Regions from separate parts of the Homo sapiens genome. Here all the other regions are linked to region 3. The links are contacts of gene promoters, found by promoter capture Hi-C in blood cells and fetal thymus (Javierre and others, 2016). All regions are on one chromosome and are shown on one strand. The core of a region is centred on a gene start or on the middle of the fragment in contact, and the rest is flanking DNA. Distances in the headings are between cores, read along the strand shown. Region 1 holds the start of PPAN (peter pan homolog). Region 2 holds the start of ZNF846 (zinc finger protein 846). Region 3 holds the start of HNRNPM (heterogeneous nuclear ribonucleoprotein M).

Region 1 (4,125 bases), core at 628-3,127, 1.7 Mb before region 3:
TCCCAGTCTCAGCGCTGGGAGGAGTGAGCAATCCATCTGAGGGCCTGTGGCACCTCTATCCGCTGCACCCCCCCATACCTGCCACCTCGCCAGGCCAGACCCACCTTGTGCACGTTGATGGAGGGGAACAGGTTCTGGAACATGGTGGCCATGAGCTTCACATGCATACCATGGGGGCCAAAGCTGTTGAGTACCAGGAGGGGTGGGTGGGCAAACTGCTGCTCGTGCATGCGGTGCCGGCGCAGTGAGGAGACCACATCACGCACCAGCGAGTACTGTAGGACAGGAGAGAGGAGGGGGTGACCACCAACCACACATGGCTGCGGACAACCCCAAGTCCAGCTCCCACCCCACATGGCTTTGTACCACCTCCACCCCTCTCACCTTCTTGACCTGGAAGGTCAAGGTGGGGCCTCCTGGGAGGCGCATCAGCTTCTGCAGGAGAAGAAAAGATCAGTGACTCTGGAGGGGTCTAGCAGAGGTGCCCGGAGTAGGCACCTTTGCCCCATCTCTTCTTCAGAGCGTTTACTTTGAAGCCAGAAATCACAGCAGCTCAGAGGCATATGTGTTCATCATGAGAGATAGGGGAAGGGGGGGTCTGGGGGAGATGAAGGGTGAGGGCGTCTACTCACAAAGTAGACATTGGTCTCTGTTTTGCTCAGGATCAGAAAGTGTGTGACCCCGAGGGGCCCAGCCACTGCCACGCAGTCCTTCAGCGAGTTCTTCTTACGAACCTGGAAATGACAAAAAGAAAAAAAGAAAACATAGCTTATCCCTTGTTGTGACAACTATAAGCTGACGGTGCAGATCCTGTTATGGTCTGTCTTGCATCTGACCCTTTCAACAAGCCCAGAGGAGCAAAAGGATCTTAGCCTTTAGAGTCAGTCGGACGCAGATTTGAGTTCTAACTCTGTCTCTTGCTCACAGCGCATCTTCCCATTGACAAATGAGCGAACTCAGGCCCAGAGAGGTTAAGTAACTTGCATCAGATACTGGGGAGAAGTCAGTTTCCAACCCTGCTTTGCTGCCTCCAGATTCTAGTCTTTTTTTTTCTAACACGGTCTCCTCCGGTCGCCCAGACTGGAGTGAAGTGGCACGATCCCGATTCACTACAGCCTTAATTTCCTGGGCTCAAGGAATCCTCCCACCTCAGCCTCCCGAGTAGCCGGGACTACAGGCACGCAACACCATATCCGACTAATTTTTCTATTTTTTGTAAAGACGGGGTTTCACCATGCTGCTCAGGCTGGTCTCGAATTCCTGGGCTCAAGTGATCCTCCCGCATCAGCATCCCCAAATGCTGGGAATACAGGCATGAGCCACCACGCCCGGCTCCAGATTCCAGTCTTAACTGTCAGGCTTAGGCGACTATCTATCTCCCAAGCTGCGCGCCCTCACTCCAGCCCAGCAAAAGCCCTGAAAGGCAGAAATGATGCTCCCCATGAGGGTCTTTTTTTCCAGCTGGGGAGACTTAAGTCCTCCCACAGTTTTACAGCGGGAGCCATTACTGCAGCTACGAAGACTAGGCCGAGGGTGGGTGGAGGCGGGCTGGGGGTGGGGTACAAACCTGCAGACGGCTGGCAGTGAGCGGCTCCATGACCCGCCGCACGTCCAGGCTGAGCTGCCGGATGTTGCGACCCGTGCAGCCTCGCGTGAACACGAACGAGTGCGGGTTCGCGGCATAGGCCTCGAGGTTGCGGAGCTGCGCCTGGGCGCGGGCGCGCTTCTGGTGCCGGGACTGCGGCGACGAGAGACAAAGGGTCAGCGCCGCGACCTCGGCCGGGACCCCACCTGCGCCACCTGCCTCCCAAGCTGCCGGGCCTTACCCTCCCTGACTGTCCCATGCTGCTGTGTCCTCCACGAGGCCTCCTGCGTCCGCCGCTTCCGGCGCTGCGCAGCTCACTTCCGGCGCCTGAGAGCCGGCACGGCGTGGGACGACATCAGGCGGGCCTGCGCACTAGGTGGCCTCTGGGAGCGGGGAGGGGCAATCAGATGGAGCGGTTGCTATGGAGACACGGGTGCCTGTTTCTAGGGAGACCGGGGCGGGGCTACGCGGCTCCGGGCTGCAGAGAAACGAATCCGCCGGTTCGAATCCCGCTTCGGCCCATTTCCTCCAGCTGGGCTAAAACCACTTTCTGCATTCCGAGGCTCCTAAAATATCCCAAAGTAAGGCTGATAATGTCCCCCGGGCCCACGAATTAGGAGCGACCATGTATGCACAATGTTGGGCGCTCTGGCGCCAAGTACTTGGGGAGAAGCCACCGGAGGGAATGACTGTGGCAATCATTCACTTTAGTCTCGCAACTCCTCTGGGCCAGCTGTCCTCCCCGGGTACCCCTGTCTGCAGACAGGCTGAGGGATGGAAACTCCACATCACCTTCTGGAAACTCAGGGCAAGGCGGGCGTTTCGTGAATAACTCGCCCCCTCCTTCTTTCCGCTCAAAGCCTCAGTCTTGGCCTCAGGCCTCTGGCTTCTTCCCCAAAACCTTGCAGTGGGGGAAAGGGACACCCCCTCACTGGGCTGAACATTACTCTCTCCTCCCCCATCGGCCTCCTCTCCCTCCTTGCTCTCTCTGGCACCCCAATTCTTCCTCCTCTCCCCCAGATGTGTCTCCCCTCCCCCTCGTCTTCCCCCTGTCTCTTTCTCCCTCTTGTAACTTTGTCTCTGTCATCAGTTGTCTCTTTCATCATTTATAACTGAAGATGGAAACTAAAGAAGTTTCCTTTCTCTGTGTCTGGCCCCATCCCTGTTTCTTTCTTCTCATCTGCCTCCCTGTGGTCTCTCCCCATCTTCCCATCTCTCTCTGTCTCTCCCCATCTCCCCGTCTCTCCCTTTCTCTGCCATCTCCCTATGTCTCTCCCATCTCCCTATGCCTCTCCCATCTCCATCTGTCTGACTCTCTGTATTCTTCAGCCCCTCTCTGTGACTTATGAAGTTCCCTCCCTCTCTACTGCCAATGGGGAAGCCAGAGGGGGCTGAGGGTGGGGGGCCGAGGGGCCCAGTGTGGGGGCCCCAACCCAGGCCCAGAGCCCAGCCTGGCAGCCTCTCTCAGATCTGGGACGACCATTTCCTTTTTCAACCCTGGAGTCCACTCGAGTTACTCGGGAGCTCAGGATGGTGCAGACCAGGGGAAGGAGGTGACTCTCCCGGCGTGTGGCTGGTCGTCGGTGGGGCCTTTGGACAGGTCTCAGACCCTGGGCCTGGGCTCTGTGGGGCTCTATGTGAGTTTCTTTGTACCCCTGGGAAATGACTGCATGGTTACTTCCCCCAGTTCCGTCCTCGTGTGATTTGACTTGTGTGAAAATGTGACCGAGTGTGTGGGAGACAGACGGTGACCTCTGTGGTGCGGTGGATAGGTTTCCGGGTGTCAACTGTGTGTACCTGTTTTGTATCTGTGCACTACTGTGTGATCACAAGAACCAGGATGTGGACAAGCCTGACACACAGATAAAGACCCACTCAGCCCACCCCATTTCCCTTTAAGTTGTGATGTGTGTGTGACCATATTTGGAACATACAGTTGTTGCCTGAAACTGTTATGTTTCCAGCTGTGTCTTTTTAAAAATTTTTTTTAATCAATGAGATATCCTTTATTTATGAAAGCATAGTTCCAATGCAGAAGTCAAGCTTTATGGTTATATATTAGGATAGGTTCAGATCCAATATGACAATGTTTAGCACTAACTTTAACATGTTAAAGCTCTGATTCCTGAATGTTTTTCTCACTTAATATATTCTCTCCAATGACAAGCTGGTGTGCTTGGCTTCTTATGCTGAAAAATATATGCCTGAATTCTATAACAAGCTATTAACAAAATCATGAATAGTTAATTAAATAAGTGCCAACACTACATGGAACTTACTGGCCACCAACTCAGAACCATAAAACTACACACACACACACACACACACACACACACCACACACACAAACAAAACAAAAAAAACACCAAAGAAAGATAGCTATCACTGTACATATGAATACTGTCCAGGATATCAGATCAATTATCAAATCCAAGGTCTCTGGTGTTTTGTCTCACAGTGTTGAATATATGAATGCTTCTCTATTATACTGACTTGTATTATTTTCAACAAATAATTATGTGGACTCAAAATCTTACATTT
Region 2 (4,352 bases), core at 1,167-3,666, 1.3 Mb before region 3:
CTTTGGGGACTCTGGGGGAAGGGTGGGAGAAGGGTGAGGGATAAAAGTGGATAAAAAACTACACATTGGGTACATTGTACACTGCTCGGATGATGGGTGCACCAAAATCCCAGAAATCACCACTAAAGAACTTATCCATGTAACCCAAAACCACCTGTTTCCCAAAGGCTATTGAAATAAAAAATAAATAAATAAATAAACCTTTTTCCATTTTGGTTTACATTTATATTCTTTTTCTAGGTTTTATTTTTTGAGCTGGGGATTTATTTTTTATTTTTTATTTTTTTGAGACAGTTGTGCTCAGTTGCCCAGGCTGAAGTGCCGTGGCGCCATCTCAGCTCACTGCAACCTCCGCCTCCCAGGTTCAAGTGATTCTCCTGCCTCAGCCTCCCGAGAAGCTGGGATTACAGGTGCGCACCACCACGCCCTGCTGGTTTTTGTATTTTTTAGTAGAGACCGTGTTTCACCATGTTGGCCAGGCTGGTCTTAAACTCCTGTCCTCAGGTGATCCGCCTGCCTCGGCCTCCCAAAATGCTGGGATTACAGGTGTGAGCCACTGCACCCAGCTATTCTTATTTTTATTGACAAAAGTGTTTAGGAATATGAATGTTCCTTTGACCACTGCTTAAAATGCGTCTTGTATTATCCAAAAAAGCCAAAAAAAAAAAAAAAAGAGAAAACCCAATATCCAACAACTGATGTTATGATACAGCCATACAATGGAATCTTATTTAGTAAAAAAAAATTAAGTACTGATACATGCTAATTGGATGAACCTTGAAAACATTGAATGAAACAAGCCAAACACCACGTGTTTTATATTCTAATTCTACAGGCAATATCTACAGTAGGCAATCTATACAGACAGAAAGATTAGCTGTTGCTTTGGACTCTGGGGGTGGGGGTGGGGCTGGATGAGCAGATTGGGTGATCATGGCTAGGGTACTGGGTTTATTTTTGTGGTCATGAAAATGTTCTAAAATTGATTGTGATGATCGATGCACAAATATATGAATATACAAAAAGCCACGAAACTGTACACTTTAAACAGGTTAATTGTATGCTATGATAATTGTATCACAACAAAACTAAAGGCCTAAAGAAGGAACTGAATGTATCAGAGGCACAGAGCATTTTATGGATTAACAGGTTAATCTTTTTTTTTTTTTTTTTGAGACGGAGTCTCACTCTGTCGCCCAGGCTGGAGTACTGTGGCATCGTATCAGCTCACTGCAACCTCAGTCTCCTAGGTTCAAGCAATTCTCCTGCCTCAGCCTCTCGAGTAGCTGGGATTACAGGCGCCCACCACCACACCCGGCTATTTTTTAAAAAATATTTTTAGTAGAGATGGGGTTTCGGCATGTTGGCCAGGCTGGTCTCGAACTCCTGAACTCACGTGTTCCACCCGCCTCGGCTTCCCAAAGTGCTGGGATTACAGGCGTGAGCCACTGCCCCCAGCCCCATCAGGTTAATCTTTCAAACAGGGTGTCGCTGGTCTCGAACTCCTGGGCTCAAGCGATTCTCCCGCAGTAGCTAGGACTACAGCGGGATTATCTTTGTAAATATGTTTATATCCCTGCAGAGGGTTGAAGAAACAAGGAGAAAATCCTGCAGAAAAGAATTTCCCTAGGGTGGTGGCTCACGCCTATAATCCCAGCACTTTGGGAGGCCAAGGTGGAAGGATCACTGGAGCCCAGGAGTTCCAGATCAGCCTGGGTAACAAAGAGAGACCCTGTCTCTACAAAAAAATAAAAATAAAATAAAAATAAATTAGCCAGGCGTGGTGGCACACACCTGTGGTCCAAGCTGCTTGGGAGGCCGAGGGGGGAGGATCCTTTAGGCTCAGGAGTTCGAGACCAGCCTAGGGAACACAGTGAGACCCAAGTGTCTAGAAAAAGATAACTTAGCTGGGCGTGATGGGCCCAACTGTGGTCCAAGCTACTCCGGAGGCCGAGGCGGGAGGATAGCTTCAGCGCAGGAATTCCAGGCTGCAATGATCTATGACCGAGCCACTGCACTCCAGCCTAGGCGACAGACCGGAGCCTTATCTCAAAAAACTAAAAAGAGAAATTAAAAAAGAAAAGAAAAGCACTCGATGAGCATCCCGCTGTCTGCAATCGAAGCCTTAGGTGACGCCTCCACGCGTGCCCCGCCCGCTGCGCCAGTCCCCGCCTCCAACCCGGCCCTTGGCGCTGGGTTTCCTGGTCCGGCGTCGTTCCCAATATCGACAGATTGATCTGGATCCTGGTCCACCTGGGATGCGAGAAAACGGGACTTTTCTGTACGCGTGTCGAAGAGGTGGCCCCAGCTCTTCTCTCAGCTTCACATCATCCTCATTCCAAAGCTCTTGGGGCTCGGCCCCTACACTTAATGCCGTGCGCAACCGGAAGCGGAAGTGCCAGCCGGCGCGCAGCTATACGTATTCCCCGCTCTCCAGCAGCTTCCTAGCTGGGTTTTCACCTCAGCCAGCGCTCATGCTCAACCTAGGCAGGGCGGGGCAGGAGGGCCTAGCGGGAGGCGGAGCGAGGGTCGGAGGGTGACGCTCCGGACTTCTGCTAGGTCTGAGACGCGCCGGCCTCCCGCTGCTGCTCCGGAGAAGCGGCGCCTCCTCCCCGCCAGGACCCCGAGGCGGGGGGTTCCCGCCTTCTCTTCTGAGCGCCTCTTCCCGCTGCGCCCGCATCAGTCTGGGCCTGGCCCAGGGTCCCCGGTGGAGACGTGTTTTTTTCTCCAACCACCGTGCCCCTCTGTTTAAAAGCAGCCAGTCAACCTTTGTGTCCTTTCTCCAGAAGGAAAAGCATCTCAGCTGTTGTGGAAAAGGGCCCCAGCGTCCTCTTGTCACCGACAGGGCGATTGCAGTGCGTTCCGGTGAGCCCTGGACGGAGGAGATGATCTGGCTGTGGGAGGGCATCGCTTATTGAAGTTTGCGAAATTGCTCAGCAGTTAAATGCTTTGTCAAGTGTGCAGGAGTTGTAGGTTTATAGAAATAAAAGCAAATATTGCCACAGTTATAAAGCAAAGTAGCAATACTCCGCTGTGTTTTTGAGATCAAAAGCAGCTGAACTTCCTAGGTCAGTACCTCCCAAAGAGCTTCAAAACGGAGGGGCTTCCAGGAAGTAGGATGCCGCCTTCATTATACCAGTATCAGAAATTACAGTTGTATTAACTGTGAAAGAGACATGTTTTGATTCAGCGTTTTTCCTCTCGTATATATACATATTTTGAGACGGAGTTTCGCTCTTATTGCCCAGGCTGGAGTGCAATGGCGTGATATAGGCTCACTGTAAACTCTGTCTCCCGGTCCAAGCGATTCTCCTGCCTCAGCATGCTGAGTAACTGGGATTACAGGCATGTGCCACCACGCCCGGCTAATTTTGCATTTTTAGTAGAGACGGGGTTTCACCATGTTGGTTGGGCTGGTCTCGAACTCCTGACCTCGTGATCCACCCTCCTCGGACTCCCAAAGTGCTGGAATTACAGGTATAAGCCACCGCGCCTGGCCTTCCCCCTCATATATTTTTATTTATTTATTTACGTTTTAAAGACAGGGTCTTGGTTTGTTGCCCAGGCTATCTGTAGATTGAATATTCTAAACCAAAGAAAATGTGAAAGGCCAGAATATTGAACACCTATTATATATCCTTGTTGTAGACTGATCATTTGTTAATATTTTGCATGTTTTCTGTTTCTTTGCATCTCTTGTGTAGATCAATGTGTATTGGCCGGGTGCGGTAACTTAAACACCTGTAATCCTGGCACTTTGGGAGGCCGAGGTGGGCGGTTCACCTGAGGTTGGGAGTTCCAGACCAGCCCGACCAACATGGAGAAACCCTGTCTCTACTAAAAATACAAAATTAGCCAGGTGTGGTGGGGCATGCCTGTAATCTTAGCTACTCGGGAGGCTGAGGCAGGAGAATCGCTTGAACCCGGGAGGCAGAGGTTGTGGTGAGCTGAGATCGTGGCAATGCACTACAGCCTGGGCAACAAGAGCAAAACACCGTCTAAATAAATAAATAAATAAATAAAACTAGGCCGGGCACAGTGGCTCACCCCTGTAATCCCAGCACTTTGGGAAGCAGAAGCAGGAGGAGCCACTGAAGCTATGAGTTTGAGACAAGCTGGGACAACATAGTGAGACCCCATCTCTACAAAAAAAAAAATAAATAAATAAAAGCATAACTAAAGTCAGTGACAATATCAAGTCTTCTTTAAGATGTGCATGCATTGCTGAAGAGAACACTTTTTTTTTTTTTTTTTTGAGACAGAGTCTTGCTCTGTTGCCAGGCTGGAGTGCAGTGGCATGATCTCGGCTCACTGCAACCTCCACCTCCCGGGTTCAAGTGCTTCTCCTGCCT
Region 3 (3,973 bases), core at 1,312-3,811:
CCCCAACCATCTTCTTCTCCTCCACTTCCACACGTCTTCCTGTCATGGAGGAACAGGTCCCTGCCCCCAGCAGGTGGCGGAGGTCACCTCCTCCATTCTTTCTACCAAGCAACTCCACTAACTTCTATCACAGCATAATTACCTTATGTTATGGTAATTACATAACATACATAACATACAAATATGTTAATGGCCTCTCCACTCTGCATGGAGTGCAAAAGTATAGGCTTCTAAAGAGATTTCCTTAAGACTTGTAATGAAAAAAAAAAAAAAAAGTTTTCCACAGGCCCTATCAAAAATATCCAAGTGTTGCCAGCTTCCTAAACTATCCTCTATGAAGCTAGTACTAGACTTTGAGACTTTGAGCCTCTTTCTCACAACGGCTATTTTATTCTACAATTTTCAGGTTCCAACAGTCCACATGTATTTGTAAAATGACTCAGTCACAAAATGACTATTTGAAAATGGACAGGGGAAAAGGGAAAATTTGTAATCTATTAATTTACCCTATCATCTAGCAAGGTTCTACCAGCACTCCTTCCTGCATACGGTAAATAAATTTATCTTAAAGCCCTCCAAATACCACCCTCAGAAATCCTACCAGCTTCCGTAGATAGACGCTGAAAAAGTCAAAATTAACACATTCCTTCCCAGAGTTTTCAATAGTAAAATGCTGGGAATAGAGGAAGTTTTTCTCATTTCTAAGGGCCAGTAACCATGGTATTTTATTTCTCCCTACTTAAGGAGGGAAAGAATCTGGAATTTTCTCCGGATTTATTATCTACCAATATAGCTAGCACTTAGGGAACGTTCTTAACCTAAGCGCTCAACTAGGCAGGGCGCAGTAGCTCATGCCTGTAACTTCAGCACTTTGGAAGGCCTAGGCAGGAGGATGGCTTGAACCCAGGAGTTTCAGACCAGCCTGGGCAACACCCGGAGACCTCCTCTCTTCAAAAAATTAGCCGGGCATGGTGGTGCCGCGCCTGTGATCCCAGCTACTCAGGAGGCTGAGATGGAAGGATCGATTGAGCCCAGGAGTTCGAGGCTGCAGTGATCTGTGATCGTGCCACTGCATCCCAGCTTGGGTAACAGAGGGAGACCCTGTCTCAAAGAAAAAAATTAAATATATAAGTGCTCAACCGCATTCACTTTTAATCTCCATAAACTAAGCTTCACACATTACAATATGAGGAAGGCAAAGTCACAGACAGAAAGGAAAGAAAACGGAGGGAGTTAGTATTTAATAGCTACACTTTCTGTTTCCGATGATGAAAAAGTTCTGGACATGAAGCAGTGACGGTTACAGCACACTGAGTCAGTATACTCAATGCCACTGAATTATACGCTTAAAAAATGGTTAAAATGGCAAAGTCTACGTTATGTCTATTTTACCACAATGAAATAAATGTCTGGGAAATTCAATGTGTACCCAGGCTTCCCCTTCCTTCCCGGCCGCTGATCTTGGAGCCAAAACCTCTCTGTCTCTCTTAAGTGTCTGTAATCAGAATGAATGAGTTTCACCGGGGCACAAGTCGATGCTTCCTCCTTTAAAGAAACTTTTAAAAGCCAAGGAGTCAAAGAGCCCCAAGCAGGACTCGAAAAGCTGATGAAGTCTGGAAGTAAATGAACCCGCCTCCTGACAGAACAGCTTCCCCGAAACACGGGAAAAAGGGGATTCCTCCCCCGACTTCGTATCTGTCTGCTTCCGAGGGTGAACGCTAAGCAGCAGATCCCATCTCTCCACTAATACCTGCGGCGCACCCGGGGAGGAGGAGCGGGAAACGGCGAGGGACTTGAGCCAGGGCCAGAGCGTGGGGCGAGGGGCGGTTCCGAGGGAGGCACTTCCCGCGGAGCGCGGTCGGCGCGCGGGGACTAAGGGGCGGGGCAGGAGGGGAGCCCCCCGACCCGGCTTCGCGGCCCTTCCTGACGCTTCCCTCGCTCGGTTACCGTTGACTCGGGCTGACTGCGCGCGAGGCCTCCCGGGCGCGCACCCTCTCTCCTCCCCCCACGTTACGGATCAGAAAACAGACCCCGGGAGGAGAGGGGACGGGGGGCTGAAACCCGGCCCCCGAGGTCACCCTCCCGGGGAGCGGTCGGGTAGGCCTCGGAGGCTCTCCGGTCCGGGCCCGCGCCATCAACCCCCATGCGCAGCAGCTGGGCCTGAGGCCTCGACTACGGGGTTGGCCCCGGCCTGGAGGGACTGAGGGTGGCGAGGCTCGAGGCCCGGTGTAGGGGACGATTCTGGAGGCTCCCCCGGCTCCCCGCTCACGGCCCTAGACGCCGCTACCCTGAGCAGGCGGTACGGGAACAGCCGGGGCCGAGGCCGCGCCGGGGCTAGGCCGCCAACAGACCTAACGGAGCCGCCGCCCGCGTCGGCCGCGGAGAGGAACCCTTACCCGTGGCAAAGGACCGTGGGATACTCACCCCTTAGGGCCCGGAGCCCCGTTGCCGCTCGGCACGCCGGGCGCGCCGCTCTCTTCCTCCATTTTGATCTCCGTCGCCGCCACCTCCGCCGCCGCTTCGACCCCTGCCGCCATTTTCTCCGCGTCTGGGCTTTGTGTGAGCGAACGGGCTGCACCGCGCTGCGCCTGCGCGCCCACGTGACCCGACGCAACCAGTAACACCTGCGCCCGCCGCTCCCGGCTGCCTCCTTGGCCCCACTCGCCCCGGGCCACGCCCCCGCCGCGCGCAGGCGCAGACCGGCAGCTGTTGATCGCTTCTCTCTCGAGATACACTCGCGTTAGGCACCGACTGGCTGTTCCCGGCGCGCGTCCTCTGAGTCCGATAGAGGAGGCATCTCCCCACCCCACCCCACACAAACACCTAGACCTAGTCACTCTCAGCTTTCTGTAACCAGAGCTGGAGCAGAGGGGAAGCAATGATCCTGTCTAGAGATTCCTGGAAGTTTTAGATGAAGCTTGTTCAACCCGCGGTCCGGCACACGATTCGTAAACTTTCTTAAAACATTGTGTCTTTTTGTGTGATTTTTTTCTTTTTGTAACGCAATTGCGCGGTTCTCCAGCGCGAACTTTGTAGGCAACAACGGAACGGCATGGAATAATATCAGAGTATTATCCGTAATTCGCATTATAATTGCAAACAGTTCGTCCAGAAGAAACGGAAAACTGTTAAAATTCACTAATAATGGGGCCAGGCGCGATGGCTCACTCCTGTAATCCCAGCACTTTGGGTATGGGAGGCCGAGGCGGCGGATCACCTGAGGTCAGGAGTTCGAGACCAGACTGGCCAACATGGTGAAACCGCGTCTCTACTAAAAATAAAAAAATTAGCTGGACGTGGTGGCGGGCGCCTGTAATCCCAGCTACTCGGGAGGCTGAAGCAGGAGAATCGCTTGAACCCAGGAGCCGGAGGTTGCAGTGAGCCGAGATCACGCCACTGCACCGCAGCCTGGGAGATAGACTGAGACTCCATCTCAAAAAACAAAAAGATAAGTATTGAGTACTGGGCTTAATACCTGGGTGATGAAATAATCTGTACAACAAACCTCCATGACAAGTGTTTACCTATTTAACAAACCTTCACATTTACCCCCAAACCTAAAAGTTAAAAACAAAATTAAAAAAAAAATTAATGGCTGGGCGCGGCAGCTCACGCCTGTAATCCTACCACTTTGAGAGGCCAAGGCGGGTGGATCACGAGGTCAAGAGATCAGACCATCCTGGCCAACATGATGAAACCCTGTCTCTACTAAAAATACAAAAATTAGCCGGGTGTGGTGGCAGGCGCCCATAATCCCAGCTACTGGGGAGCCTGAGGCAGGAGAATCGCTTCAACCCAGGAGGAGGAGGTTGCAGTGAGCCAAGATCGGGCCACTGCACTCCAGCCTGGTCACAGAGTGAGACCCCATCTCAAAAAAATTAAAAATAATAATAAAGAGCGAGAGGACTCTTGCAATGTTGCATAAAGTGAACTGTGACAGAATTCAGGGTGTATTCTGTACTAGGCATAATGC

What was found. The method cuts DNA at HindIII sites, captures the fragments that hold promoters and counts their contacts. A CHiCAGO score of 5 or more calls a contact.
Region 1: the fragment with the promoter of PPAN here is called in contact with the fragment with the promoter of HNRNPM in region 3 in 2 of 17 cell types (total CD4 T cells and naive CD4 T cells); the score reaches 5.8 in total CD4 T cells.
Region 2: a contact is called between the fragment with the promoter of ZNF846 here and the fragment with the promoter of HNRNPM in region 3, in 1 of 17 cell types (M1 macrophages). The highest score is 5.6, in M1 macrophages.

What each region holds. Positions count from the first base shown.
Region 1 is chr19:10,104,114-10,108,238 of GRCh38, reverse strand. It overlaps PPAN (peter pan homolog), which reads right to left and starts at 1,877. Exons shown (of 12, transcript NM_020230.7): 1 at 1,827-1,877; 2 at 1,568-1,738; 3 at 633-734; 4 at 385-435; 5 at 105-275. The coding sequence starts at 1,844. It overlaps PPAN-P2RY11 (PPAN-P2RY11 readthrough), which reads right to left and starts at 1,877. Exons shown (of 13, transcript NM_001198690.2): 1 at 1,827-1,877; 2 at 1,568-1,738; 3 at 633-734; 4 at 385-435; 5 at 105-275. The coding sequence starts at 1,844. SNORD105 (small nucleolar RNA, C/D box 105) reads right to left here and starts at 588; the gene lies at 504-588. It also overlaps a transcript of ANGPTL6 not described here. RefSeq lists enhancers at 1-308, 1,951-2,000, 1,597-2,240 and a silencer at 1,681-1,730. The HindIII fragment of the contact is 12,960 bases long and covers 1-3,630 here.
Region 2 is chr19:9,766,802-9,771,153 of GRCh38, reverse strand. It overlaps ZNF846 (zinc finger protein 846), which reads left to right and starts at 2,416. Exons shown (of 6, transcript NM_001077624.3): 1 at 2,416-2,865. RefSeq lists enhancers at 2,132-2,351, 1,623-2,488 and a silencer at 2,432-2,601. The HindIII fragment of the contact is 9,482 bases long and covers 1-4,352 here.
Region 3 is chr19:8,443,563-8,447,535 of GRCh38, reverse strand. It overlaps HNRNPM (heterogeneous nuclear ribonucleoprotein M), which reads right to left and starts at 2,561. Exons shown (of 16, transcript NM_005968.5): 1 at 2,425-2,561. The coding sequence starts at 2,537. RefSeq lists silencers at 2,053-2,282, 2,523-2,802. The HindIII fragment of the contact is 1,747 bases long and covers 1,173-2,919 here.